Regions from separate parts of the Homo sapiens genome. Here region 2 is linked to region 1. Evidence: promoter capture Hi-C in 16 types of primary human blood cells and fetal thymus (Javierre and others, 2016). All regions are on one chromosome and are shown on one strand. The core of a region is centred on a gene start or on the middle of the fragment in contact, and the rest is flanking DNA. Distances in the headings are between cores, read along the strand shown. Region 1 holds the start of TTC17 (tetratricopeptide repeat domain 17). Region 2 holds the start of TRIM44 (tripartite motif containing 44).

Region 1 (7,970 bases), core at 2,076-4,575:
ACATCATGTTGTACACTAAATATATACAATTTTGTCCATTTCACCTTAATAGAGTAGAAAAGGGGGAAATTTCCTAACTTGACTATGTGGGTAAAACATGAATACGATATCACTCCTGTGATCATAGGTTTGGATGTGGTTAGGGCCGCCAAAACTCATGTTGAAATTTGGTACCCAATGTGGCAGTGTTGGGAGATGGGGCCTAGTGGAAGGTTTCTGGGTCATGGGGGTGGATCTGTCATGAACAGATTAATGCCCTCACGGTGGTGGGGGGGGAGGTGAGTTCTTGCTCTCTCAGGAATGAATTAGTTCTCGAGTGTGGGTTGTTAAAAGAGTTTGGCTTTCTTGATTTGTCTCTCTTGCTGCTTCTCTCAACATGTGATCTCTATGCACACCCACTCCCCTTCTGCTTTCCTCCCTAAGTGGAAGCAGCGTGAGGCCCTTACCAGATGCGGCTGCCCAATCTTGGACTTTTCAGCCACCAGAATCATAAGCCAATTAAACCTCTTTTCTTTATGAATTGCCCAGCTTTAGGTATTCTGTTATAACAACACAAAATGGACTAAGATAATGTTATATGGCAAACGAAATTTTTGCAGATGGCATTAAAGTTACTAATCAGTTGAATAAAAAGGGATATTATTCAGATAGACCTTATCAACTCACATGAGCCCTTTAAGTCTAGGCTTAGAGATAGAGGAATTCAAGAGATTTCAGCAGTGGAAATATTCTGCTTGCCTTCAAGGAATAACTGCCATTGTGAGAGCCACATGGCAGAAAACTGTGGGTAGCCTCAATGTTAATGGCCACAATCAGCAGCCAGTAAGAAAATGGAGCCCTCAGTCCTACATTGGCAATAAATTGAATTCTGCCAAGGACTTGAAGAATGAGCTTGACTGAGGAACCCCAAGCCTCAGATGAGATTGCAGCCTTGATATGAGCCTTGTGACACTGAGCAGAGAACTCAGTCACACCACAGCAGAAGACTTTTGCCCCAAGGAAACTGTCAGATAATGTGTTAAGCTAAGTTTGTGGCAATTGTTACACAGCATTAGAAAACTAATACAGGATCCCAAAAGATAAGAGTTATCATCTACAGAAAATAGGTGGTATAATAAAGCTATAGAAGCTATAATTCCACCCCTTTAGAGGTTAACTTGTGAAGGTCAAAGAAATTGCTGATAGCAAAATATGTGATGCTGGGGCCTTTCTCAAATTCCTCACTAACATTCATTCATTCTCAGGCTCTCAGATCTAGAGTCAGGTGGATCTGAGTCCAAACCTGAGCTCTACCACTTAGCAATATGATCTTGGCCAACTTACTTAACTAGCCAGAGCTTGGTAAGTTGTGACGATTAATAGGAACTATGCATGTACAGGACCCAGTACGTATTAAACACTCAAGAAATGTTAGATGATGATGATGTCAGCTTTATACACAAGAAATAGGGTTGACCTCTATGCCCCAAAAATAAGATGCTGAGACAAAAGGGATTCCATCATTTGCCACTTCTCTATTTTAAAATTCTGAAACACTCCCTATTGCCTATGTCTAAACTCCAAGAAACTCTTAAAACATGCCACTGACTTCACCTTTTCGTTTCTTGAGACGGATTCTCGCTCTGTCACTTAGGCTGGAGTGCAGTGGTGTGATCTCGGCTCACTGCAATCCCCGCCTCCCGTGTTCAAGCAATTCTCTGCCTCAGCCTCCCAAGTAGCTGGAATTACAGGTGCCCGCCACCATGCCCGGCTGATTTTTGTATTTTTAGTAGAGGCGGGGTTTCACCATCTTGGCCAGGCCAGTCTTGAACTCCTGACCTCAGTGATCCATCCACCTCGGCCTCCCAAAGTGCTGGGATTACAGGCGTGAGCCACCGCGCCCGGCCAACTTCACCTTTTCACTTATTATTCTGCCTGAACCAGCACCTGAGCTCCAAACCTTTTTTTCACCTGGTTGGTTGCTCTCTCCTGTACATATGCATTCATACACCCCCATTATCCTGTATTTTAATTGTTAACCTGCCAATAATATCTCACTATATTGCACACTGCCCAATGGTTACATTTCCATACCCAGAGACTATCAGAGTACCAGGCAAAAAGCAAATAAGCCATATATTTTTAATGAAATGAATGTTCAGTCTTCAGGCCTTTAAGAAAAGCTGTTCCTGGAATGAAGAAAAAAAAAACACCAATGCTGTGGTTGTTTCTACATTTCTATAGCGTGGTGTTTAAACACTTAGCAACTGCTCTCCTGCATACACTTGTGTAGAGAAGTGGTTAAACAATATTCTCATCCTTCTTTTCCCAAGGAGAAAACCAAAAGCATACCAACCTTAAATAACACACACAGAGGGCAATCTTGAAAGACCTAAAATGACATATCTAGCAAGAAGCTGGCAGCCAAGCTTGACGCCTGCCTGCCTGCCTGTTGGTTCACTAGAAGAAAGTGGTTCTCAAACTTTAATATGTATACCAGTCACCTGAGGCTATTGTTAAAATGTAGTCTGATTCAGCAGGTTGCGGGGGAGAGGGAGAAGAGCCGAGAATGTGCAGGTCTAAAAAGCTCCCAGGTGATGCCAATGTTTCTGGTCTCCAGACCTAGACCTCTAGCTTAGACCTGTGCTGACCAGTACGTTAGCCACATGCGGGTATTAAGCCCCTGAAATATGACTAGATAAGCTGTCAGTGTAACATGCCGATTTCCAAGACTTAGTTAAAAAAAAAAAAACTAAACTATCTCAATGATTTGTACAGACCACATTGAATTAATATTTTGTGTACTTTGAGTTAAATAAAATGTACTAGTAGGGTTACTTCCCTCTATATTTTACATTCCACACGTGGCTCGCATTATAGTGCTACTGGACAGCGGTGCCCTAAACTAACAACCGTCTCCATTCTGAAGCTTCCACTATTGTGAGACTTTAAGAATAAAAGCAACACCTCTCTTCCCATAGGTGGTTCGAAAGCACACCTTTTGTTCCCCAACTATCTACCAGAAATAAAACGAAAAAACAAAGATTTAAAAAACAATAAAATTGAGTCCTTTCACTTCTGCTTAAGCGCCACCTAAGCCACTGCTTTTGTCTCCCTCCGGTTCCCACGCTCCGAGATCGTATCACCCACAGAAAAACAATAACTAAAAAGCGGTCTCCATCCCTGAAGCCAAGCTGGGAGAGTAGCCGAAGGTCGCGCTTCCTGGCCGCCAAAACCGAGGTGGAGGAAACTTGGTAGTCAGCGAGCTACGCCCTCTCGGCTCCTCCTCCTGCTCCTCCTCCAGGGCCGACCTCTTCAAGATGGCGGGCGCCGGAGACTAGCTTCCGCTTCCGGTGTGAGCGGCCCGGCCGGGGGGGCAAGATGGCGGCGGCAGTAGGGGTTCGTGGCCGGTACGAGCTGCCGCCTTGCTCCGGCCCAGGCTGGCTCCTCAGCCTTTCCGCCTTGCTGAGTGTGGCGGCACGAGGGGCCTTCGCCACCACGCACTGGGTCGTCACGGAGGACGGGAAAATCCAGCAGCAGGTAGCGGCCGGGGCGTCCCTCTTCTCCCGTGCCCGCCCTCGCCCCGGGGGGATTACCCTGCTTGGCCCCTGGCTGTTGGGCTCCGCGCGGCCCCGCCCCCAGCCTACCCTCACAGGGAGGTGGCACCGCGACCTCGGACTCCCTGCATTCGGACCAGGCAGGCACTTCCCGCTCCCCACTTGTCTCCTGGTCCTCGTTTGGCCCCCTAGAAGTTCTCACCCTTCCACCTCGCGGGCCGCGCGCCGCGTGGGGAAGAGTCGCCCAGCTGCGGGAGACGGGCCCTACGGACCTTTTTTTAGCTCGGGGTTTAGAAATCACAGATTTCAGGATTCCTGCCTTTGGTGCCTCTCGGGTTCACGCGTCACCGGCCCTCCCCGAGGAAATAGAAAGCAGGTGGCAGCTCCAGGGTGTGCGCGAGTCCCATGGTATGACAGCTTCTGGACCCCTAGCCTGTGGACCATTCGTGCTGCTCCCCTAGTCTCGTCTACCACATGGTGGATTTCGTTTCTGGTTGTGTTGGTTTCAGCTTGTACCGTTACTCAGGTCAGCAGTGGCTCATTAGAAACAACATAGAAACACTCCCCTTCAGAAGGAATGCTTGAAGATGCCGCTGGTGGCGTTGCCTGCATCTTTTCAGCTGTTACTGCCCTCGTTTCCCAGTGCACTTTGCTTTGTTTCTTTACCTAGTTCTTGTGACCCAGCCTCGCATGGAGGATATGCGATTTCCTGGATTCTTGTATGCCTGAACTAATTCCTCAGAGGCGAGACTGCTTTTCTTATATAACTTTATGATTGCCTGCGTTTTGTAAATGCTGCTGATGCCTAACGAGTGCGTGTGTGTGTTCCGCTACAGAATATTGGTAAACTTACTGACTTCGAACACTTGAGGACAATCTTGAAGTGTCTAGCAAACATTTAGAAAGTGAATTGTGTGCCCCATGCAATTTAGCCCACTGATCTAAAACGTTTTAACTAGTGTGGTGGGAAATTACTGGTCCTTTGGATTGTGTGTAATGAATCATGATAGGAACACATTCCAACGTTTAAGGTGAGGTTTAGATTTAGATTTGCCGTGTAATGTAATTGCAAATTCTATCTCAAGTAAGTTAAGTATAACTAAAAATCCGCCTAGGTATTCATGAGTGGTTTTCAGCATATCTAAGAAAAGACCGTGTTCCTATTGGGTAACGTTTTCTATATGACATACATAAAGAACAGTTTCCTTTTCATTGCCATACTATCTGAGACTTTAAATATATGTGTATGTGTTTCAGAAACCCAAGAAAACACTGTAAGACCATATGTGAGTGCTGGTTGCTTCCACCCTTCTTTTGTTTCTTGATAGTGGTTTTCCCTGAGGTCTCTATGAAGACGTGGAATTAAGTCACTCCTGCTGCATTTTGGGGAGCCTTTCTCCTGTTGGCTCTTCTGCAATATTGTTTTTGGCCACAGCTATTTATACTCTATGACATTGACTTCTCCTTCCCATTTTGGTGTCCTACCACTCAGCTGAAAAAGTAGCCCATCTAAAAAGTGAAAGCTGGTAGAAATGTTTTATGTATATACTTAACATTGCAATGGGAAAGTAGAGTCTGATTTTTTTTTTTTTTTTAACAAATTCCTTCTTTTTGCACTTTGGATACATATGTATTAATGGGGGAAGGCAGGGGTTACTGGAAACTTGCCTCAGAGAAGCAGGGAAGAGCTGAAGAATCTTTTGGATCTCTGCCAAGTCACTGCTGAGCTAAGTAATTAGGCTTAAAGTTTAAAAAGCAAGATTTCTCTATTACATGACTTTTTAAGTGATCCTTTTCATTGAATTTTCCAATACTTTGCTATACATAACATTTACAATGTTATGTTCAGGCAGCCACAAGATTTTATGCCAGAAGAAATAAGGTTGGTGTCTGCAGTGTAACAATAAGAGGCCAGGGGAGGAAAGTTGGATTTAATCTGAAGAAAAGGCACCACATATAAATAAAGTAAAAGAATTGGGTGCTGTGGTGAGCTGCCGAGTTCCACTCTGATAGCTGATTGTGCATGACCCATGCTTCCCTTCCTGGCCATAATTTGTATGCAGGTAGAATCCAAACTATCAATTTAGATCGTGATTAATTATAATATTTGTATATACTGTACTTAAGGACTTGAAAGATCACATTAGTGTATGAAATCCATATATATTGCAGATTTGTACATTCAGAAACATAATTAAAAGCTTAGTATATACAGATGCTCCTCAGCTTATGAAGGGGTTATGTGCTGATAAACTCATTGTAAGTCGAAAATACTGTAAGTCAAAAATGCATTTAATGTACCTACCAAACATTGTAGCTTAGCCTAACCTACCTTAAACGTGCTCACAATACTTACATTAGCCAAATTTGGGCAAAATCATCTAACAGCATCTTTTACAATAAAGTATCAAAATACCTCATGTAATTCATGAATACTTCACTGAAAGTGAAAAACAGAATGGTTATATGGGCACTCAGTACAGTTGCTACCAAATGCATGTCACTTTTGCAGCATTGTAAAGTCAAGAAATTATAAGTTGAACCATCGAAAGGTGGGGACCATCTGTATACTTTGTCCTGACATACCAAATTCTTGCTGCTTATTCTTGGTTACAATATTTGAATGAGAGCATAAGTGTGATTTCAGTTTTAAAGTGACCTACTACCAGGCAAAGGGCTAAGGGCTAACTGGATTAACAGCTTTTAGAAAATTAGAGTGGTACATACCTTTTGAGAACCTTTAATATTAAACACACCCAGATTAGATATATGGGTCATTGTTTTCCACAGTGATCATAAAGAAGTACTTATGACTTAAAAATCTGAATTGTCCAACCATCATTATAACTTTTTTTTTTTTTTTTTTTGAGATGGAGTTTTGCTCTTGTTGCCCAGGCTGGAGTGCAATGGCGCTATCTTGGCTCACCACAACCTCCGCCTCCCGGGTTCAAGTGATTCTCCTGCCTCAGCATCCCGAGTAGCTGGGATTACAGGCATGCACTACCACACCCGGCTAATTTGTGTGTGTGTGTGTGTGTGTGTGTGTGTGTGTGTGTGTGTGTGTATTTTTAGTAGAGACAGGGTTTTACCATACTGGACAGGCTGGTCTCAAACTCCAAACCTTGTGATCCGCCCACCTTGGCCTCTCAAAGTGCTGGGATTACAGGCGTGAGCCGCTGTGCCCGGCCATTATAACTTTTTAAGTACATCAAGGAGTCTTTCCCAGGAGAGATGAAAATTCATTTGATTTTTTATATTTCAAGGTTTAGCAGACAATAAAGATAGGCACCCACCAGTTACATACCGCAGACTTGTCAACATGCGTATGTATTGGAAATGGTACATCCTTTGGTGGGTTGAAAAGGGGGTTAAGTAAGAGCAAGGAGCATACATTCCTGCAGGCAACCTCTTCACAGTCAGAGCTGGGGCTGCTGCAGGCAGCAGCTGGTGTCCATTACTTGGCATGATGGTTAAAGGAATTATTTCTTTTTCTTTTAGAGATGGGGGTCTTTCTTTATTGCCCAGGCTGAAGTGCATGGTTACTCCCATGCATTGCAGCCTTAATTGATCTTCCTACCTCAGCCTCCTGAGTAGGTGGGACTACAGGCTTGTGCCACCATGCCCAGCAAGTTGTTGCATTTCACAATCCCTGCCTCAGCTAGGAAGCATACCTTCCCCAATTTTTAGGTTATGTTTACTGAGCTGCCACTGAATTCCCAAATATGGTCCAGGGAATCCTGGAGCTGGGATGTGGAGAGAACATTCCAATCACTAAGTTCCTTTTCCACTGGTGTCAGGGGAAGGCTAAGAGAAACCCCGTCTTCTTCTCCTCTCCGCTCTGTGCTGTTTTCCTAGCTTTGGGCTTTGACATACCTCTGATGCCCTAGTGTCTGTCGCTGGTACCTGAAACCTAGTAAGCCCATCTCACTTTATTTAAGCAGGGGTCCTTAACTTCGACCCCATGGACTTAAGAAGTGAGCTATTATAATCTAGTTACTAAAAGGAGCACTAGCGTAATCAGGCCTGTGGCTCTTTTGGTTGACTTTTTGAAAAATAGGTTTCAAGATAAATTTTGTGTTGTTTCATTTTGATGTTGTTTTTGCTTAATCCCTAGTTTGGCAATATCTACTTTCTGTATTCTATTTTCTATTTTTTAATCAGTGTCTGGTAATTTACTTGCATCAAAGGTTAAACTTGTGAATTTGCCTAAGAGCCTAACCACTCTATGGCACTTCATTTTGTTGAAAAAAATATATGTTCCATGCTCTAGGTAGCAGCTAACAGAGAAACTCTTGAAATGTTACCAGTTTGTTAGTTGTAGCCTTACTGAATCAAGAAGTTGTATTGCTAGTACTGAGTTCTCTGCCTCTGGATATTCTTTTTCTTCATAATTGGAGGGCTAAAAATTTAAGTAAATTAAGAGTATCATCTGTA
Region 2 (7,970 bases), core at 3,987-6,486, 7.7 Mb before region 1:
ACCTTCTGAGGGTGAAGTTTCCCCTCCCTTCCTACATTATGTAGCGATAGACAACTAACACAAATTTTATTAAAAAGAATAGTTTTTCCATAACAAAACCCTAAAATGTTAGAATGGTTTTAGAACTGAGCAGAGGGTAGAAGCTGGAAGGACTTTGAGAACAATGTTAGTGAAAGACTAGAGTCTTTGCTGGATGCGGTGGCTCACACCTGTAATCCCAGCACTTTGGGAGGCAGAGGCGGGCACATCACCTGAGGTCGGGAGTTCGAGACCAGCCTGATCAACATGGAGAGGCCCCATCCCTACTAGAAATACAAAATTAGCCGGGCGTGGTGGCTCATGCCTGTAATCCCAGCTACTCGGGAGGCTGAGGCATGAGTATCACTTGAACCCTGGAGGCAGAGGTTGCGGTGTGCCGAGATCATGCCATTGCACTCCAGCCTGGGCAACAAGAGCGAAAAACACTAGAGCCTTTGTAGGTGAGAACTTAAAGGGAAATGAGGAACATGTTTTTGGAAACTGGAGGAAAAGGGTCCTTGTTATGTAGTGGCAGCAGTTTAGTAACATTGTCACCTGCAGTAATGTGCAAAGTAGAAATTGTGCCTAACCAGCTGAGTGTTCTAGCTAAGGATATTTCATGGTAGACTGTTGAAGGTGCTAACTGATGTTTTCTTGCTGATTATAGCAAAATGTGAAAAGAAAGAGATCATCTAAAGGAAGGACTTAAAAAAAAATCCGGAACTTGCAAGTTTTGAAAATTCCCAGCTTCCCCAGATGGCAAATGATGCTACTGTGAAAAAATGGCTTCCAGGCAAGGAAAAACTCCAGGACATTCCCAGCAAAACATCATCAAATGATGAAGGTAAGAGTGCGGCTATAAAATCCTTTGTTCAGACCTCAAAAGGATCTATAGCAGTGATTCATAGAATCATTCAAACAAACCATAGAGCTTGGAGGAAGTTTATAGTGTTGTGCTTTAGTGGTTTCACTGAGGGATTCTACAGAGTAAAGAAGGGTTTATCTTGAAAAGAGCTGTATGTATAATTTTTGTCCAATGGTATGAGCCCCAATTCGATTTATAGAGGATTCACAAAGTTTTCAAAACAATTCTTTGGCAGAAGCACTGCCAGCATGGACACACAGACAGAGTACAAAATGAAAAGTAGCCTTTGGACCTCCTAAATTCTACTTGCAGTAAGCAAATTGATACAATTACACAGCTGCAAACATGAACTACTTTTAATGGAAAAGGAAAGATGACTCAGAGAGTGGAATCAAGAGCTCAATGGGTGAAATAAAAAGCCATGGGGAGTCATTCCTGAACAAGGAGTAGGTTTGAACCCTAATCAAACAGCTTCCAAAATGTGTCTACCTGGATTTAAGGATTCTATGAGCCAGTGACTTCTCAGGCCTCCTGTCTTTCCTCCTTTTTGAGCAGGACTGTCTGTACCACTAATCTTTTTTATTTTTATTTTAGACAGAGTATTGCTCTGTCACCCAGGCTGGAGTGCAGTGGTGTGATCTCAGCTCACTGCAACCTCCGCCTCCTGGGTTCAAGCAATTCTCCTGCCTCAGCCTCCTGAGTAGCTGGGATTACAGGCATGCACCACCACGCCTGGCTAATTTTTGTATTTTTTTAGTAGAGATGGGGTTTCACCATGTTGGCCAGGCTGGTCTCCAACTCCTGATCTCAGATGACCCGCCCGCCTCGGCCTCCCAAAGTGCTAGGATTATAGGCATGAGCCACTGCGCCCAGCCTGTACCAGTTATCTTAAACCTGTCCCACCATTGCATGTTGGGGTGTGGGAGACATAGGCATTCAAATGAACTATACTTGAGGATCTGCACTTAAAACACTACACCAAAGTGCTTCATCCACACCTGGTCCCAATTTAGATGACAGGACTCCAGACTTTGAACTGATAATATAATGGGTTGAGACTTTTGGGGACCTTGGGAAGAAGTGAGTGTATTTTACATTTGGGAGATACGTGAATCATTGGTGGCCAAAGGGCAGACTGTGACAGCCAACCTCCAAGATGGCCCCAAAGATTCCCATCTCTTGGTTTTCAAGCCCTTGTGCAGTTTCTGCCCACACTGAATAGAGCTAATCTCTAACCAATAAGCTATGTACGAAATGATGGCGTGTGACTTCTGAACTTAGGTTATAAAAGACATTGCATCTTCCATCTTGCCCTCTCTTGGATCACTTGCTTTGTGAGAATTCAACTGCCCTGTCTTGAAGACATTCCAGCAGCCCTATAGAAAGTGGTGAGGCCTTTTGCCAACAGCCATGTGAATGAACCATCTTGGAAGCAAATTCTATGCTTGTAGGTAAGCCTTCAAGTGACGATAGCACAGCCAACATCTTTACCAAAATCTCTTGAAAGACCCTAAGTCAGAACCACTCAGCTAAGTCACTCCCAGAGTCCTTGCTCACAGAAACTATGTAAGATAATAAATGTTTATTGTTTTAAGCTGCTACATTTTGATGTCATTTTCTATGTAGCAATAGGTTAATATAACAAGGGTGCTATTTGTGGACACTCCCAAAGATACTAATTCCTGGGGAATCAGATGGTTCGGATTTCTCTGCAGAGGGGTACAGAGATCTGCCTCATTGAGTCTGCCACACCTTGTCACCAGAAATTTATGGAGTCCCTTTTTAATAGTTTAATCTGGCCAGGTGTGGTGGTTCATACCTGTAATCCCAGAACTTTGAGAGGTCGAGGCTGGTGGATCACTTGAGTCTAGGAGTTCGAGAGCAACCTGGGCAACATGGCAAAACCCCATCTCTACTAAAAATACTAAAGGTAGCCGGGCATGGTGGCACACACCTGTAATCCTAGCTACTTGGGAGGCTGAGGCAGGAGAATCGCTTGAACCCGGGACGCAGAGGTTGCAGTGAGCCAAGATCGTGCCAACGCACTCCAGCCTGGGCAAAAGAGCAAGACTCCATCTTAAAAAAAAAAAGTTTAATCTGTCTGCCTCTAAGACCCTTTCTCCACAGAGTGCTCAAGAAGAATTGTAAAGTGTCAGATACTGAACTGCACAGTATTATATTTTAACTTTCTGTCAGATAACATTAAGAAGAAACAGTAATAACAATAATGATGACATGACTCCCCCTCCCCTCATCAAATACCCTGGATACAACAATGTCCTTTTAAGATATTAAAAAGGCCAGGCCTGTGGCTCACACCTATAATCCCAGCACTTTGGGAGCCTGAGGTGGGAGGATCACTTGAGTCCAGGAGTTCAAGACCAGTCTGGGCAACATAGTGAGACCCCGTCTCTACAAAAAATACCAAAACAAGTAGTGGGGCTTAGTGGCTCACGCCTGTGGTCCTAGCTACTTGGGAGGCACTTGGGAGGACTGCTTGAGCCCAAGAGGCTGAGGCTGCAGTGAACTGTGATTGAACCACTGCACTCCTGCCTGGGCAACAGAGAGAGACCCTGTCACCAAAAAAAAAAATAAATAAAAAAAATAAAAATTATTTTCATTGAATAAAAGACTTTCTAAATGTGAGAACGTTATGTTTGTAAAGGCTAAGTTGTTTCCTTTTAAGCCTGGGGGAGGACAGGAGTAGAAATAACCAAGCAAGGCACACTTCTCATTAGGTATATTAACGTTGATGTTTGAGTTGACATTTGTTGAATTTTTTTTTTCAGAATGGTGCTTCAATTCATGTTTCAAAAGCAGACACAGAAATAATTTCCAGAGAAATGAGCTGGGGGAAAACAGAAATGTGTATGGAATTGGAACAAAATAAACCTGATTTTTTTCAACATTGTATAGAATTGTTCTGAGGTTAAAAAGAAAGGTTTCTAAAAAATAAATATCTAACAAAAGCTGCACAAAGATTAGGCATACATTATCCATGGAGACATTAAAAACTATTAAAAAGGTTTTTTTACCCCACCTCATCCCCTGGTATGTTTGAGGAAAGCATCTGGAAATTCTAACTCAAAATCATCTAAGGGAATCAATGTAAAACAGACACCATTCCATCCCCTTTCATCCTTCTTAATACACCTCAGCCTCTCCCTTGACTAGATAAAAACGTAATTTTCCCTCTCCCAAATACAGTGCAAAACAAAAACTCTTCTGTGAATGGAGAGACATGGATATGGGGTAGAGGTGGAGACTTGCCTACATTACCAGCAGCCAGCCGAAAATGCCCTGTGTGTGTAAAATATGTTCCTTCAAAGGGGCATTGTGAGCACTAAATATAATTTGTGCCAAAAATAATAATGAAAGCTTAGTGAATACTCTACAGTGCAGGCATCGTTACATTTAATCCACAAAACTACCCCATGAGGTAGATATTTACCGTTCTTTTCACTTAACATCTTTTTTAAAAAGCGGAAAACAGAATGATGAATTAACTTGTCCATGGTCATAAAACTGATAGGTAGTGGCACCAGGATTTGGGGACCATCGGGCAGAGGATCTTCCAAAACCGGCTTTTAAAGAGCCACAAAAAGATGTAGCCGGGTTCTTGGCACTACAGTACTGCTTTATAAACAACAGTTCCCTTCTTTTCTCTTAGAGCCCAGTGGGAATCTAGAGGGACACCTTACATAAAGGAAAATGACTGCAACCTGGACCTGTCACTCGACAAATACTGCCTCTCCCCACCTCACTTCACCTGACGTCTCTGCCCAACCGAAGGCAGCTCTCAGAAAACCGCACAGAGGTTACCACCCCAGAAATTCTGAGATCCTAGGAGGTAGCAATGCAAATAGACAAAGCACAGTATTGCTTTGGATCGAAAATATTTGTTTGCTCATCCTAACTCCAATTCCCCTAGCCTAGAACAAACATAGCCCTTCCGCACTCAGGAAATCCCAAGAGGTCAGGTTCAGTCTGGTAAACAACACTGTCCGGGCACCTTGCAGAACACTGGGGACTGTGACGGGCGGCGACAAATTGGCACAAGAGAGACTGAAATGCACAGGGACACCAGCCTAGTGGCCGTGAAAACTCAAGTTGACACTTCCAGGGAGGGAATGGGGGAGGTGGAGCCCAATTCCTGCTTCTGGAGAGAGTAAGAGACTTCCTCCATCCTCCTTCTCCCTCCTCCTCCTCCAAGGCACGCTGAGATTTGGAGCGGAGGAGCTGAGCCCCGCGGGAAAAGCAGAAAAGGGTCATTGCCACTTTAAATGACTCAGGAAGTAAAAGGAGGCCTCCTGACGGGGAAAGGGAAAGTGGAACCGGGGCGGCGCGGGGGCCGGCGGCTGCCGCGATCTCTCCCTGGTAGCGGGAGGCTGAGCGGGCGGCGCGACGCGGGGGCCGACGGGGGCGCCGGGTGGCCGCGCCGGAAGTGCCTTGCGCGGCAGAGGAAGCGCAGGGACAGAGCGGAGCAGGCCGAGCCGGCGGAAAGGGTCTTTGCTGCTGCGCCCGGGCAGGGGCTGCCGCGGCCCCAGGTCCCGCTTCGAGACGCGGCGCGGTCCAGGCGGGAGGCGACTCCCTAGGAAGGGACCCGGGGCGGGAGGAGGAAGTGAGGCCGCGCGGAAGGAAGGCGGCGAGCCCCGGGGCCCCGAGGCCTTGGCCGCGTCACAGCACCCACATGGCCTCTGGAGTGGGCGCGGCCTTCGAGGAACTGCCTCACGACGGCACGTGTGACGAGTGCGAGCCCGACGAGGCTCCGGGGGCCGAGGAAGTGTGCCGAGAATGCGGCTTCTGCTACTGCCGCCGCCATGCCGAGGCGCACAGGCAGAAGTTCCTCAGTCACCATCTGGCCGAATACGTCCACGGCTCCCAGGCCTGGACCCCGCCAGCTGACGGAGAGGGGGCGGGGAAGGAAGAAGCGGAGGTCAAGGTGGAGCAGGAGAGGGAGATAGAAAGCGAGGCAGGGGAAGAGAGTGAGTCGGAGGAAGAGAGCGAGTCAGAGGAAGAGAGCGAGACAGAGGAAGAGAGTGAGGATGAGAGCGATGAGGAGAGTGAAGAAGACAGCGAGGAAGAAATGGAGGATGAGCAAGAAAGCGAGGCCGAAGAAGACAACCAAGAAGAAGGGGAATCCGAGGCGGAGGGAGAAACTGAGGCAGAAAGTGAATTTGACCCAGAAATAGAAATGGAAGCAGAGAGAGTGGCCAAGAGGAAGTGTCCGGACCATGGGCTTGATTTGAGTACCTATTGCCAGGAAGATAGGCAGCTCATCTGTGTCCTGTGTCCAGTCATTGGGGCTCACCAGGGCCACCAACTCTCCACCCTAGACGAAGCCTTTGAAGAATTAAGAGTAAGTATTGGGCCTTCAGAGCATAAACCTAGGGGTCAGGACACCTGGGTTTCAACTCAGGTGGCCTGGCTGTGACCACATTCGCTTTCACTGTGTCCCTAAGAAGCTAGTCTTTCCAACTTTTTGGGAGCAGTTCTTATTCACCGTTTTTGGTTGAACTCTTTTGAGAATCTGATGAAAGTTCTGGACTCTGACCTGAGAAAATACACACAAAATCTAGTATACAATTTCTAGAAAATTGCAAGTTTCTGGTCTGTGGATCCCAGGTAAAGCATTTCTTGGGAGTTTTGACCCCACTTAGGCCAATTTCCACAGCATCACTATTGTTGAAACTGGTGCTTTGTGCTAGGGCTCTTGATAAGGCAATCTTTTTGCCTACTTGAAAACATGGGAAATAGGATTTTGCCACATGAATCCAAGCAAGTGATACGTCTGCATTGAAAAGACTAACAAAATAGTTTTAATAGTAACTTCATATGTGCCCCGAGTTCATTTTAGATTCTTCGTGTTTGAAACTTAGTAGAAAAGGAGGGTAAGAAGATGGAGGCCAAATTGGGGTGGGAGTGGAAGTTCCCATGTCCTCTGTCTGGATCTTTGTCTGTCGTGGACCTTACTGGTCCCCCAGAACAGTGGACACTTCGGAAATATTTGTTGAATGAATGAATTTGCAGACGATGCACCTTTTATTCATATTGTGGATGTTTACTATCATTGAGAGAAACTGCTGGTGTTAATCGGGGAGGGAGGGGGAAATTTTGAGTGGAGTGATCAGTTCATTAAGTAATCTGTATTAGTGAACATTGTCATATTATGATGACTTTTGCTTCCCTGAATAGGGAATAGCTGGCATTGGGATAACAAATACCTTGAGAGTGAAGATCCTCTGTATTAGGTTTTCCCTTTTTTAGTGCCTATTTATAATTGTAAAATGCACATTCAGAAAGTGTGTAAAAACTTACAGTCTAACAAATAATTATAAAACAAGTACTGAGGTAGTCTCCATCCAGATTAAGAAATAGAACATTACTAGCAATATTGAAGCCTTTTCCCCATACCTTTTCCAATTATAACCATCTCTCTTCTGCATAAGTAAGCATAATCTTGACTTCTGTGATCATTTCCTTGCTTACCTTTATGCTTTTACTCCATGTGTATGCATTCCTAAACTTATTTGAACTTGACACTATGGGTGTCATATTTTTATCATGCATTCTTCTGGGTTTTGCTTCATTTTCTCAACATTGTGTTTGTGAGAGTCATCCTATGAGTGACTGTAGTTTATTCACTTTCATTACTATTTCGAATTCCATTTTATGAATATGCCACAAGTTATCTATTCTGTCATAGATGGTCATTTGATTTGTTCCCAGGTTTGGGAGCGTCGGGCTGTTACAAACAATGTCAGTGTAAATATTCTTGGTCATGTCTCGGTGTACATTTAACATACATTTAAGTGGAATATAAACGCAGGAGTGAAATTGCTGTGTCAGAGGCTATGCATATCTTCAGTAATACTACATGTTGCCAACTATTTTCCAGAGTGGTTGTACCAGTTTGAATCACTATGAAGAGTATATGAGAGTTCCTGTTGCTCTGTATCTTCAAAACTTGCTATTACTGTATTTTTCATTTTTGTCAATCTTGTGGCTATGTAATGGTATTTTATTGTGGTTTTAATTTTCATTCCTCTGATTACTAATGACTTTGAGGATCTTTTATACTTCCTCT

Evidence for each region. The method cuts DNA at HindIII sites, captures the fragments that hold promoters and counts their contacts. A CHiCAGO score of 5 or more calls a contact.
Region 2: a contact is called between the fragment with the promoter of TRIM44 here and the fragment with the promoter of TTC17 in region 1, in 2 of 17 cell types (non-activated CD4 T cells and total CD4 T cells). The highest score is 6.5, in non-activated CD4 T cells.

What each region holds. Positions count from the first base shown.
Region 1 is chr11:43,355,595-43,363,564 of GRCh38, forward strand. It overlaps TTC17 (tetratricopeptide repeat domain 17), which reads left to right and starts at 3,326. Exons shown (of 24, transcript NM_018259.6): 1 at 3,326-3,519. The coding sequence starts at 3,361. RefSeq lists an enhancer at 3,185-3,454 and a silencer at 3,585-3,664. The HindIII fragment of the contact is 2,829 bases long and covers 2,907-5,735 here.
Region 2 is chr11:35,657,539-35,665,508 of GRCh38, forward strand. TRIM44 (tripartite motif containing 44) reads left to right here and starts at 5,237. Exons shown (of 5, transcript NM_017583.6): 1 at 5,237-6,242. The coding sequence starts at 5,574. RefSeq lists enhancers at 4,894-5,213, 5,425-5,925 and a silencer at 5,254-5,633. The HindIII fragment of the contact is 12,326 bases long and covers 4,260-7,970 here.